3 separate regions of the Homo sapiens genome follow, and all the other regions are linked to region 1. Evidence: promoter capture Hi-C in 16 types of primary human blood cells and fetal thymus (Javierre and others, 2016). All regions are on one chromosome and are shown on one strand. Each heading gives the region's core, a stretch centred on a gene start or on the middle of the fragment in contact. The rest is flanking DNA. Distances are from core to core; before and after follow the strand shown.

Region 1 (4,136 bases), core at 677-3,176:
AGCCTCTGAGGCTGCCCTCACTGCAGAGCTCGTGGTCAAGGGGTGGGTGGGCAGGTTGGATCCCCTCAAGGGCACAGGGGTTAGAGTCTTAGAGACTTAGGGTGAGGGACATGGAGAGTGATGGGTTTCTGGGACCCTGAGCTGGCCCTGGCAAGGCCCACAGGGAAAGCTGTGGAGCGCAGTCATCTCCGTGGCAACTGGCCTCATCGTCCTTGTCCTGGCTTGGGGGCCGCACGCCTTCCCTTCCCTTTCACCGGCTGGAGTCGCTTTCTTCAGAGGTAACCATGGCAACCCCTTTGTTTCTGAGGCCTGCCCGCCCTCCTCCCCGTTCTCTCTTCAGGAGAGGCTCAGCCAGCTCCTTCCTGGTCCCGGCACGTCTCTAGTGGCGCCGACTGACAGTGGCCCACCAGTGAGTGGGGCCAGCCCCTGGGGTGGGGGAGAACGGCCCTGCTGGGCCCAGAGATGTGGCCTGGGCCCCACCCCTGCCACAGAGGCCACGTTCATTGGCTCACTCATGCCCTGAAATTTATAGAGAGTACCCACGTCTGCCACGGGGCCACAGATGGGGCAAAGGCCTGTCCCTGCCTCCATGGCCCTGCTAGGGGCAGCCTGGAAGTGGGGAGACAAGGCCTGAGGAGGGGGTGCAGAGGCCCAACGGGGGCTGGCTTTGCTGCAGGACGCACTGCGGGGTCACGGGTCATCTGCCAGAGCTCTCAAGGCCACAGGAAGCCCAGGACTCTTGGCTTTACCTCAAATGGGCTGAAGCAGAAACAAGCATGTGGTTCACGTAACTGAAAAGTCAAGGAAAGGACCTGCTGAGGTGCAGCAGGGTCCACGTGACCCGGCCGTGGTTGCTCCGGCTTTCCTCTGGGCTGGCTTCATTCTCGTGCAGCCCTGTTCTCGGGTAGTGAGATGTGGAAGACTGGCCCCTTCCCTCTCTCACCTAACCCAGCTCTGGAGAGGTCTGTGGGCAGATGGGAGAGTCATTTGACTTCAGCCTCCCCTCCGGTCTGAACTCTGACCCTACAGCAAAAGTCCCAGGACTGAGCCTCTTTGGCTAGAACTGGGTCACAGGCTGACCCCTAAACCAACTGCTGTGACTATGTAGCCAGCCTGGTTTATGCCACTCCACTCACCTCAAACCAGACCCATGACTTCAATGAGATGTTGACAGGGGAACCCTGGTTTGCAGATGAAACTGAGTGATCACAGACTCAGAGAGGTTAATTAATTTGTCCAAATCCACACAGCTGGTAAAGAATGCAAGCTCCAGGTCTGATTCCAGAACTTCTGGGCTTAACCCTGGAGCCACTGTAGGTCAGTGGGAGTCCAAAGGGTTTTAAGTATGGTGGTGAAACGGTCGGGGATGCAGCTGGAGGGGTAAATTGGCGCTGGATTTTGGTTGGCGGTGAATGGCATGCAAAGGAGGTGGACGATATTCAGGATTTGGTAGGACAGTGGAAGCAGCTACGCCCCAGCTATCGCACGGTCCCCAGCATTTGTAGGAAAAAGCCCCCAGGGCTTTGGGTAGCCTCGCAGGCCCGCACTGCCGCCAGGACGCAGTGCACCTGAGGGCGGAGCACCCACGCCCCGGGCCACCTGACTCACTGTTTGTCAACTCTGCTCTCTGCAGCCACGCCCTTTCCTCCTTGCCTCCCTCCCCTTTTGGCTCAGGGGCGGCATAACCCCGCCTCTCTCCTGCTGTGACTGGCTGTCCTTGCCGTCACTCCGCTGCGTGGGCGGGGCTCTGAGGGGGCACAGGTAGAGGCCCTTCGCGAAGGGATTAGCATAGTCCCACCCCCCGGCGCGAGCCTCGGGCCGGGCGCTGATTGGGCAGGCAGCGGCCGACGCGGCGGCGCCGGGCGCAGCGAGTGGCGGGCGCGGGCTGTCAGTCGGCGAGGCGGCGGGCCGCACTTCCGCCTCGGTGTCAGTGGGTCGCGGGCCTACGGGGCGGGGGCGGGGCGGCAGTGAGCTCGGCCGGCAACCGAGGGACCCGCGTCCAGGTGAGTGGCCCCCGCCGCCGCCACGCGAAGGCCCGGGACCCCGGCGAGCTGCGGGGCCTGGGCCGCGGGCTGGGGCTGGAGCCGGGGCGGGGAGGGGAGGGCGGGCCGGGCAGGACCCGGGTCCGCAGGCCGCCTCCAGCCCCGGCCCCGGCCCCGGCCTCGACCCCCACTGGGAGGCGCGCCCGGCCTAGGCCGCAGCCTGGCGCCCCGGGGAAACTTTGGGAGGAAAGTTCCGGCCGGGCGTGGGGCCTGGGCCTGGGTCCCGCGGCCCCCGCACCCTTCCCCCTGCGGTCGCCCGGCAACTGCGATCCCGGGACCCCCGGCCCGGCCCCCCCGAGATCCCCAGCCCCCCTGCTGCCCCGCTGAGCAGGAAGTGGGGACGGGCGCACCTGCTCGCGGCCTCGCCCTCTCTCACCACCTCACCGGGAACAGGGAAGGATTTCGTGCGCATTTAGGGCGATCCTGTAGGTGAGGAGGGCGAGTTCCGCCGGGAAGAAGGGCAGGGAGACGCAGTCCCACTCCGACCCTGGCCTTCTTGTCCCGCAGGCCTGTGTGCACGTCGTCCCGGGGAGGGTGCCCGCGAGCCCTTGTCCGTTCCCCTGGGCTCTGTTTTTGTTTTTAATTTATAAATCTTAGCAGACTACACACGGTTGAGAACTTGCTACCTAAAACCTATCTTTGGTAATGTAATTTTAAGAGGTTCCTTCTTTCGCCAGTTATATTTTGGTACTCAGAAGAATACGTCTTTAGACTTTCCAAGTTTATAAGCCCAGACCAAGACTGTTAGGTCGTCACAGCACCTCAGCCTCCCCGCTTCATGGGAGGACCGGCGACGAGGCAGTGGGTGTCGGGGTGTTGCAGGCTCTCCTGGGGTGAGGGTCACCTCCCAGGGGCGTTTCTATCTGAACCGTCCTCTAGGACAGGCCCTGGCCTAGCCTGGCTCCGGCAGCTTTGGGATGACTGCCCGGAACACCTGGAGAAGGGGTCCCATTCGGTTTGGTTGGATAGACGTTTCTCGAATGCCTGCTGTGGGCCTGGCTGGGTGCTGTGCGGCCTTCCCACCAGCTGGATGTGTGGTGAGGACAGCGGAGAGTTGAGGAGCCCGGAACTGGTGCAGGGGCCACATGCTGGGAAGCCACGGCCGTCCCTGCTGCCCTTCCTAACTCGTGCCCATGGCCTCTTTTCTGGCTGTCAGCCTCAACTCCTTCATCCGGACATGTAGCACTTTGCTGATAAGAGAAGCAAACGAGATCATTTTCTTGTTTTATGTTTTGAGATGGAGTCTCGCTTTGTTGCCCAGGCTGGAGTGCAGTGGTGCGATCTTGACTCACTGCCACCTCCGTCTCCCGGCTTCAAGCCATTCTCCTGCCTTAGCCTCCCATCTAGCTGGGACCACAGGCGCCGGCCACCACGCCCGCCTAATTTTTTTATTTTTAGTAGAGATGGGGTTTTACCATGTTGGCCAGGCTGGTCTCGAACTCCTAACCTCAAGGGATCCGCCTGCCTCAGCCTCCCAAAGTGCTAGGATTCCAGGTGCGAGCCACCGCGCCCTGCCATGAAATCATTTTCTACCACAGTCTCTGACACCTAGTGCGCACCCCGGAATGCCAGTTACCTTCCCCTTGTTGAGGACAGGAACTTTGTCGGTGGCACTTCCTCCCTGCCCAGCCCAGTGCCTGCCACAGTGTCGTCTTTTAGAATGTGGCAATGAGTGAGTGAGTGACTGAGTCTCCCTCATAGAATTTACCCTGTTTTCTTCATGTGTCCATCTATTAATGACAGCTCTTACCCCAGCAGACGATAATATTTAATAATGATTGTTCCAGGACTGTTACGAGCATGTCGTATTCACTTTCTTTGTGTGATCTTCACAACAGTCCACTGGGCAGGTACTGACATTATCCTTAGTTCATTCATGAGGAAGCTAAGGAACAGAGAGGTTAAGTAACTTACCTAAACCACACAGCAGTAAATTATGAAATATGGATTTGAACCCAGGCTCCAGGGTTCACACTCTTAAACACTACCCTGTACTGCCTTTTAATATCAAGATTTTCATTTAACATTTTCGTTTAGAATATTCTAATCATGCTGCATTACTCTGTGTCAGAATTTCGGGATTTTGCTACATAT
Region 2 (4,136 bases), core at 592-3,091, 570 kb after region 1:
GTGATATTTGTAAAACAGAAGTTGGGCAATGTCTCTAATACTCTTTTTAGGGAAGTGGTTCTATAGTCCTGCCGACAGTAGGTAGCAGCGGGAATGCTGTCCCCGTAGAACAATGTTGTCAGCACCCAGTATGCTTGTCTTTCTGTTTTCTGGGGCAGTGGAGGGGGCAGCCTGACCACCCAAGTCTCAGATCACCCAAACCCTATACAACCACCCAGCACCCATCAATGTCCCCATCAGAGCCCCCCGACTCCACCTCACAGTCTATTCTGATGCTGCAACCAGATCCCACCTGTAAATCATCTAACAAGGAGGTCAGGCAGCTCACTCAGGCTCCCTGGGAAACCTGCCCTGGCCACTGCACTAAGTTGATTTACAGAAATGTCCAGCGCCCCAGAACTTCGGGGCATCACCACTGTCGTTTCAAGAAAGTGTGATGCATGTCCACAGGTTCCAGCCAGGTGAGACTGCACCTGCTAACAGTGGTCAACAGGTCAGCAAAGATTAGGGCCCAGCACCCAGAGGGTCCTTAACCTGTACTTGTGGCCAGGATTGGAAGACTTGCGTTCACGGCTGTCCCTGGCACACAGTACAAGGAATGTCACCAGTTCCCAGGCCCAGCAGGCCTGCAGGGCTAGGAGATGGCAGTGTCCCCTAGGGGCTGGGCTGGGGCCTTCTCCACCTTTCCACCACCATCATTACAGGGACAACTCTGCGAGGAGCTATCCTCATGGCCAAGTCCAAAATCCAGATTTAGTTTTACCTAAATGTTTTGAAATGAATTGGTATAGCAGTTACAGAAGAAATTTATCTGGAGTGGCCACTCCTGATTTTTATTTCAAGAGGTCACCAACCTTGCCATGTATCTGCCAGCAGATGTCAAAGGTGGATGAGCAAGGGACCCGCGGTGCTGGGAAATGGCAGGTGAAAGTGACTTTGTGTTGCCCCATATCTGCCAGTGCTTAGAGAGAGGGCCCTGAGGAGGCGCTGAACTGGCATCAGCTGTGTTGAACAGTCCCCAGGGTGACCCTCCCGGTGGCCCAGGCTTCGTGTGGTCCTCTCCCCTAAGTGCCTTCTTACAACTGAGAGATGGCGGCAAAGGTGAAGGAAGCCACGGCTTGCCCATGTCATCCTGGTTATATAAGACTCGGCACCCTAGAGAGAAAGACTCCCCTGGTGGCTTTGAAAAGAAAACGGCCGTGCTTTGCACTGCCTATGGAGGGACAGGGGTCCGCCAGCAGCTTCCAGGAGCTGAGTAAGGCCCCCAGCCCGCAGCAGAAGGACAGAGACCCCTACACACCCAGCTTAGGGAGAGAGGCCCCTGTGGACACGTGGCCCCTCCGGGGGTTATCCTCCAAGGGACATTCTTCTGATGGGGACATCCTCTGGGGGGATTTCTCTTGGGGGACAGAAATATTCCTGGAAGAGGGGATTCTCTGCGGGGCAGGCATCCTCCGGGGAGAGAATCCTGCTGGGAGGACATCGTCGGGAAGACATCCTTCCTAGGTACCCGGCTCATCTTCCGGGGAGACCGTCCTCTGGGGGGCGGGCAGGCTTTGGGGACATTTTCGGGAGGGAGGATCTCCTAGGGCGGGCATCCTTGCGAGACGGGGTGGGGCGAATCCTCCCGGGTGGGCATCGTGGGGTGGGGGTGGGCGTTCCGCGAGGGGCATCCTCCCGGGCGGACGTTGGGGGATTCTCGGGGGAGGGAGGGGCGCGGGGCGGGCGTCCCGGGGAGGGAGGGGCGTTGCGCGCGGACGCGGGCGGGGCCTGGGCCGCTCCGTCCCCTCCCCCCGCCCGCCCCCCGCGCTTCCTCTGCTTTCGGTTTCGCTTCCGCCTCCAGCGCGAGCCCCGCCGCCGCCGAGCATGGACGACCCCGACTGCGACTCCACCTGGGAGGAGGACGAGGAGGATGCGGAGGACGCGGAGGACGAGGACTGCGAGGACGGCGAGGCCGCCGGCGCGAGGGACGCGGACGCAGGGGACGAGGACGAGGAGTCGGAGGAGCCGCGGGCGGCGCGGCCCAGCTCGTTCCAGGTGCGGCCCCGCGGCGCGGAAGAGGCCTGGGGTCCCCGGCGCCCCCCGCCCGGCTGCGTGGACGGGAGACCCCCCCATCCCGGGCGGAGACACCTGGAGCCTCCTGGAGCTCCCGCAGCCCCGGGGACCCCCCCCCAGACCGGCCGACCCCCAGCCCCAGGGCCCGGCGGGGAAGTGCGGGGGCCGCGCGTGGGTGACAGCGGAGCTGAGCCTCCCGGGCCCCATCGTGTGTGGGCGCCGTTCCCCCCGGGGGTGCCTCGGGCGCGTCCCGCCCCCAGCCGCCGTGGCCGCCCCTGATGGAACCCCTCCCGCCTCGGGCCCGCGCCTCGGCCTCCTGGCGGCCCCTGCGCAGGCCCCGCGGCCTGGGGCTGGGGCTGGGGCTGGGGCTGGGGCTGGGGCCCGGGCCGGGTCTGGCCTGGGAGGCTTCGCGTCTGCACCTGCGGGAGCCCGGGGCGGGCCGACGGGGCCTCCGCTTGTTACTTTTGTTACCGCCGGGCGCCTGTCATCGCCGGGGTTACTTTTGTTGCCGCGCTGGGAACGCCACACTGTCGCAGTCCGGCCCCCCTGTCGGGGAGCTGGGATTGATCTGGGAGCGGCCTTCCAGCTGAGCTGCCCGGGTTGCGGAGGGCCGGGAAGTGCATGGAACTCGACGGCTCCGCATGGATTCTCCCCTTGGCACCCAGCACTGTTTGCGTTTGCGCCTGGCCATGGTGGAGCGGGCAGTGAGAGAGCACGGAGGGGCTCCGCCCTGTCGCCGGGAGGGCAGCGGCCAGGCAGGCTGGGCAGGGGGGTGGGGTCTGGCTCTGTCCCACAGGACGGTGTGACCCCTGGGTGGGCTCTTGACGGGCTTTCCTCACTGGAGTTCCTCAGGCCGCTCTCCTGAAGCGGTGCTCAGAGGCCCTGACCATCCTGCCAGGCGCCCGTGACCCCTGACCTCTTCCCTCTGCCTCCTGCTGTGGCTTCTGTCCACAAGCCCCTCCCCTTCCCCTTTGGACCCCTCAGGCCTCCCCAGCTGCCTGCGCTGGACCCTGGCGGGGCTGTTTCACTTTTTCCTGGGCAGTGTCATGTATGCACCTGTGGGCTGACTGTGTGGCCACATCCAGTCAGGACCCAGCCTCCAGAACTGACCCAGGGAGGCTCCCGCTGGCCCCAGGAAGGAGAAGTAGAAACTGATGATCAGGCGGGGCGAGAGAACCACACCAGCGGCCCTGTTGAGAAATCAGGCCGAGAGGTCGGTGGCGGTGGCTCAGGCCTGTAATCCCAGCACTTTCGGAGGCCTGGGCAGTCGGATCACCAGAGGTCAGGAGTCCAAGATTAGCCTGGCCAACATGGTGAAACTGTTGTCTCTACTAAAAATACAACATTAGCCAGGCGTGATGGGCACCTGTAATCCCAGTTCCTCCAGAGATTGAAGCAGGAGAATCGCTTAAACCTGGGAGGTGGAGGTTGCAGTGAGTGGAGATTGCCTGGGAGGTGGAGGTTGCAGTGAGTGGAGATTGCCTGGGAGGTGGAGATTGCATGAAGCTCCATCTCGAGGGGAAAAAAATAAGAAAGAAAAATCAGGCAGAGAGGCAACGCCAGGTCCCAGCTGGAGCTCAGCGGGGAGCCAGGGGATACAGTGGCTGACCGGGCCTCCTAACCCCCCTTCTAGCACTCCCCCAGGATCCTGGGTCCCAATTGTTGCCCTGGACAAATACGCCCATTCCTGCCCTACCCACCGAGTGAGGCTCAGCCCCAGGCCCCCCACCCTCATCACAAGGTCAGGGCTGTGTCCCACCATCCTCATCACTAGGTACTTCCGGCCCTTTGCTCAGCCCCATGATGCTTGGCCTGCAGAGATGGGGGCTGAAGGGCTTGGGGCATCAAGGGGACCTGACATCTTGCTGAGAAGCCATCACTAGACAGGGCTGGAGGCTGGAGACTCAGGGCCTGCCCTCACCGTGGCCAGTGAGGCGTGGGGTTGGGCAGGGAAGGGGCATTCATTCATTAGACCCTGCCAGAAGCACCTGGGTCCCCTTCTGGGGCTACAGGTGGTGAGGCCACTGCCCCCAAGAACACAGCCTGGTGACTTTAGTGTACAAAGCAGGGGGAGTCTCCAG
Region 3 (4,136 bases), core at 445-2,944, 540 kb after region 1:
TAAGAGCTGGCATGAGGATCAGAGGGTCCCTTCAGTGCGGCCTTCTAGAAGAACTACAGCAACCAGGCCCTCGCAGGGGGGAGATGCACCTGCTGGGGCTAAGGAGCGAGTGAAGCCAGCCCCTGAGACACATGCTCCCAACCCCATCCTCACCTCCCAAGAGAGGGGGAGCCTCCTGTTAAGCATCCAAGTCCCAAGTCACCGGCCGGCATCGGCTGCAGCTCTCTGTGTGTGGAGACATCTCATTCTGGTGTCTTCTTTACACAGGTCAGCGCTCACAGGCTCGGCTGTGTCTCAAGACCCAATTCCTTCGAGTCACTGAGATGCCCAAGGACAAGGGCAACAGAGAGTGTGAAAAGCTGGAGTAGACAGGACAGAAAACAGGGTGCAGCGTCCCCCAGGTTGGCAGATAGCCCAGCCCCAGGGACCCCACAGCCATGGCAACCTGTGTGAATGAGCCCCAGGAGCAGGGCAGTACACGATCTGCGCGACTGTGCGGGGCAGCCCTGGGTCTCTGCCTCAGGGGAGAGATTGTGTCCTCGCCTTTTGTGGTTTCTAGAGGTTCCTGCCCTCCTTGGCTGCACGGCATCTCCCAGCCTCTCTCTCCCTTCCGTCGTCCCCTCTCCTCCTCTGACCCTGACCCTCCCAGTCCCTCTTAGAGGGGCTGTGATTAAACTGTGCCCACCCTGACCATCCAGAATAATCTCCCATCTCAAGGTCCTTAACAGCATGTGGAACTGCACTAGCCGCCCCAAGGCCCCCAAAAGGCAACCCTGGATTGGGCCCCCCAAGTTGCCTGGGATTCATGGCCACCACCCGGCTCGACGGCTCCAGACCGAAATGCACCCAGTTATAGAAACAGACAGTTGCCTCTTGAATGTGCACATGTGTGAGGAGAGTGTCACACCCGTCGAATTAAGGTGGACCCGCCATGAGTGGGGGCAATGCTGGCCAATGCCCACCTGCCCAGCACCCACAGCTCTCGGCCTGGGGCTCCCTCTGTCTCTGGAGCCCGCACTAAAGTGTGCGTCTCCATCCACGACTGGCAGGGCTTGGGGCATAGACATCCCGCTGCCTTGCCTGGAGGCGCCCCAGGCCTCCACTCCCACACTGTCTCAGGGCTCCCCGGGGCTCGGCTCTCCTTGCTCACAGTGGTCCGGGCTGGGGTTCCTTCTTGGTTGCATTTCCAGCTGTGTTCTTTCCTTCACTTTCTCACTCTCCCTTGCCTCAGGGTCTGCATCTGGGGGTCCACTGGGGAGGACTCAGCCTCTCCCGCGTCCTCCATCCCACACACCTGTCCCTGGGCAGCCACGGGGAACAGGAGCACAGGGGACAGCAGGCAGAGGGCAGCGCCCGGGCGAAGGGGACTTTCGCCCTTGCTTCATGCAGCCCTGGCACCCGCAGCAGGGTAAGACGAGATCCCAGAGGAGGAGTCTTGGCCGCAGAACTGCAGGGCCAAGGCACCAGCCGCTCGGGGGCCTGGAGAGCTCAGGTCACAAACTTGAAGTCAGCTGCCCAGGAAGCAGCCTCAGCTGGGGGTCACAGGCCAACTGGGCAGTGCCCTTGGCCACACCTGTGGAAGGAGGACAGAGGAGGGCAGGGCGGAGGAGGGAGGTGCTGGGCTGCAATGTCACCTCTACAGACCTCGGCTGATCCCAAGGGGGTCCACAGTGGATATGGTCCTTCAGGGGTGCCCTTGAAGGCAGGAAGGGGACAGGACTTTATACTGTTCCTCCCACCCCTTCGAGCAGTCACCAACTGCAGCCCAGATGAGGTCAACAGGTACAGAAAGGAGGGGGTGGGACAGGAAGGAGGGGCGGGACAGGAAGGAGGGGGCGGGACAGGAAGGAGGGGCAGGACAGGAAGGAGAGGGTGGGACAGGAAGGAGGGGCGGGACAGGAAGGAGGGGGCGGGACAGGAGGAGGAGATGGGAACAGGGAGGTGGAACGGGAAGGAGGAAATGGGACAGGAAGGAAGAGATGGGAGCAGGAAGGAGATAGGACTGGAAGGAGGAGATGGGACTGGAAGGAGGAAATGGGACAGGAAGGAGGAGATGAGGCAGGAAGGAGGAGATGAGGCAGGAAGGAGATGAGGCAGGAAGGAGGAGATGAGGCAGGAAGGAGGAGATGAGGCAGAAAGGAGGAGATGGGACGGAAAGGAGGGGATAGGACAGAAACGAGGGATCAGGGTCCTATTCTAATCTCCTGGGGGCATGATTGCAGGGGGTGACATGATTACTTCCAGCCAGCCCTACATGAGCCACCTCGTCCATGGAGTCAGCCCCGCCAGGGCAGCAGAGCCCTGGGTTCGCACAGGGAGCCAGGGTGGCGTGGGGCCTGCATTGCAGACTCCATTTGTCCACATCAATCACTTCTCTACGGCCCAAATCACCCTTAGTTGCCCAGTTCCTGCTCCGCGGCAGTCTGGCTCCTGCTGGCGCCCCAGCCATCTGTCTGCATTAGAGAATGATGCTTGCCAGGGCCTCAGGGAGGTGGCACGGATGGGCAACACTGTGCTCCCGGACCAGGTGACAGACACCACCTCATGCCCCATGGCATGGACCTCCACCTGTCTGATGGCTTTGCCCCAGCCTATCTGATGGCATGGTCCCTGGCCAGTCTATCTAATGGCGTGGTCCCCAGCATGTCTGATGGCGTGGTCCCCAGCCTGCCTGATGGCGTGGTCCCCAGCCTGTCTGATGGCATGGTCCCCGGCCTGTCTGATGGCGTGGTCCCCAGTCTGTCTGATGGCGTGGTCCCCGGCCTGTCTGATGGCGTGGTCCCCGGCCTGTCTGATGGCATGGTCCCCGGTCTGTCTGATGGTGTGGTCCCCAGCCTGTCTGATGGTGTGGTCCCCGGCCTGTCTGATGGCTTGGTCCCTGGTCTATTTGATGGTGTGGTCCCCAGCCTGTCTGAAGGTGTGGTCCCCAGCCTGTCTGATGGCGTGGTCCCCGGCCTGTCTGATGGCTTGGTCCCTGGTCTATTTGATGGTGTGGTCCCCAGCCTATCTGAAGGTGTGGTCCCCGACCTATCTATCTGATGGTTTGGTCCCCAGCCTGTCTGATGGCGTCGTCCCCGGCTTGTCTGATGGCATGGTCCCCGGCTTGTCTGATGGCATGGTCCCCAGCCTGTCTGATGGCATGGTCCTCAGCCTATCTGATGGTGTGGTTGGTGTGGTCCCCAGCCTATCTATCTGATGGTGTGGTTCCCTGGCCTATTCGATGGTGTGGTCCCCAGCCTGTCTGATGGGGTGGTCCTCTGTTGGCTGGTGTGATCCTGCCTCTTGTCTCACATCGTGAACCCTGGCCTGCAGGAGGTGACCCAAGGCTGATGACTCCTTCTCCGGGGCCCTTGCACCACACAGCCTGGCCCTGATTACAGCCCCTGGGCTCCTGTACCTGTCCTCGCAGCCCCCACTCTGCCACTTTGCATTTGTCTGTTTCACTCAACACACATTTAATGAGCACCTACTGTGTGTACCAAGCCCAGTGGGGAACAGCACATCAATGAGGCTGGTGCGGGAGGCCTTGGGTACCCTCCGTCTGGCTCCCCGCCCCAGCGCATGAGGCTGCCTCTCTGGGTCTCGGACGCCCACACCGCAGTGTCTGGGAGAAGGCCTGGAAGCCTGCATTTGGGCAGTGGCTCTGGGGCCCGGCCTTGCTGGCTTCCGGTGGCCCCAGGCAATGACTCCTCCCTGTCTCCATTTACAGATGGGGAGAGGAGCTGAGGATGGTGGGCCCGTGACCCTGAGTGGCCAGTTCATTCCCCAGGCCCTGACTGGTGCAGCAAGAAAGAGAATCCGCCTTGGGTTGGGGGATGTGGCATGAACTTTAAGATCCACCCTTTTCCACCCTGGGATCCTGGCCCCCGTCCCGCATCCCAGCCCCAGCCAGGACAGCCCCTGGCCACACCTTCTCGGCACATCAAGAGTCATGAGAGGCAGCGTCTGCCACCAGGAGGCCTCGTCCCACCGGGCCACCTGGCCAGGGCAGCTGCGACAGGAGGCAGAGCTGAGGCCCTGAGCCCTCCTCTGCCCATTCCCAGCTCACCCTCAGGGTTCTAGCCCTGTGTCGCTGCCCCTCTGATCCAAAAACTTGCCACAGGTCCCCTCCCTGCCATGCTGCCCTCTGAGTGACA

What was found. Contacts are between HindIII fragments. The CHiCAGO score rates a contact against its expected background, and 5 or more counts as called.
Region 2: the fragment with the promoter of OGFR here is called in contact with the fragment with the promoter of OSBPL2 in region 1 in 1 of 17 cell types (neutrophils); the score reaches 6.4 in neutrophils.
Region 3: a contact is called between the fragment with the promoter of LINC00659 here and the fragment with the promoter of OSBPL2 in region 1, in 1 of 17 cell types (fetal thymus). The highest score is 5.2, in fetal thymus.

The regions. Positions count from the first base shown.
Region 1 is chr20:62,236,595-62,240,730 of GRCh38, forward strand. OSBPL2 (oxysterol binding protein like 2) reads left to right here and starts at 1,927. Exons shown (of 14, transcript NM_144498.4): 1 at 1,927-2,003. RefSeq lists a silencer at 1,655-2,054 and an enhancer at 2,752-3,676. The HindIII fragment of the contact is 17,411 bases long and covers 1-4,136 here.
Region 2 is chr20:62,802,994-62,807,129 of GRCh38, forward strand. OGFR (opioid growth factor receptor) reads left to right here and starts at 1,842. Exons shown (of 7, transcript NM_007346.4): 1 at 1,842-2,037. The coding sequence starts at 1,867. OGFR-AS1 (OGFR antisense RNA 1) reads right to left here and starts at 2,594. Exons shown (of 3, transcript NR_102430.1): 1 at 2,475-2,594. RefSeq lists an enhancer at 1,615-2,520 and silencers at 2,036-2,105, 2,186-2,335, 2,396-2,565, 2,716-2,775. The HindIII fragment of the contact is 9,717 bases long and covers 1-4,136 here.
Region 3 is chr20:62,775,162-62,779,297 of GRCh38, forward strand. LINC00659 (long intergenic non-protein coding RNA 659) reads right to left here and starts at 1,695. Exons shown (of 3, transcript NR_046225.1): 1 at 1,645-1,695; 2 at 154-225. RefSeq lists a silencer at 1,002-1,163. The HindIII fragment of the contact is 9,640 bases long and covers 1-4,136 here.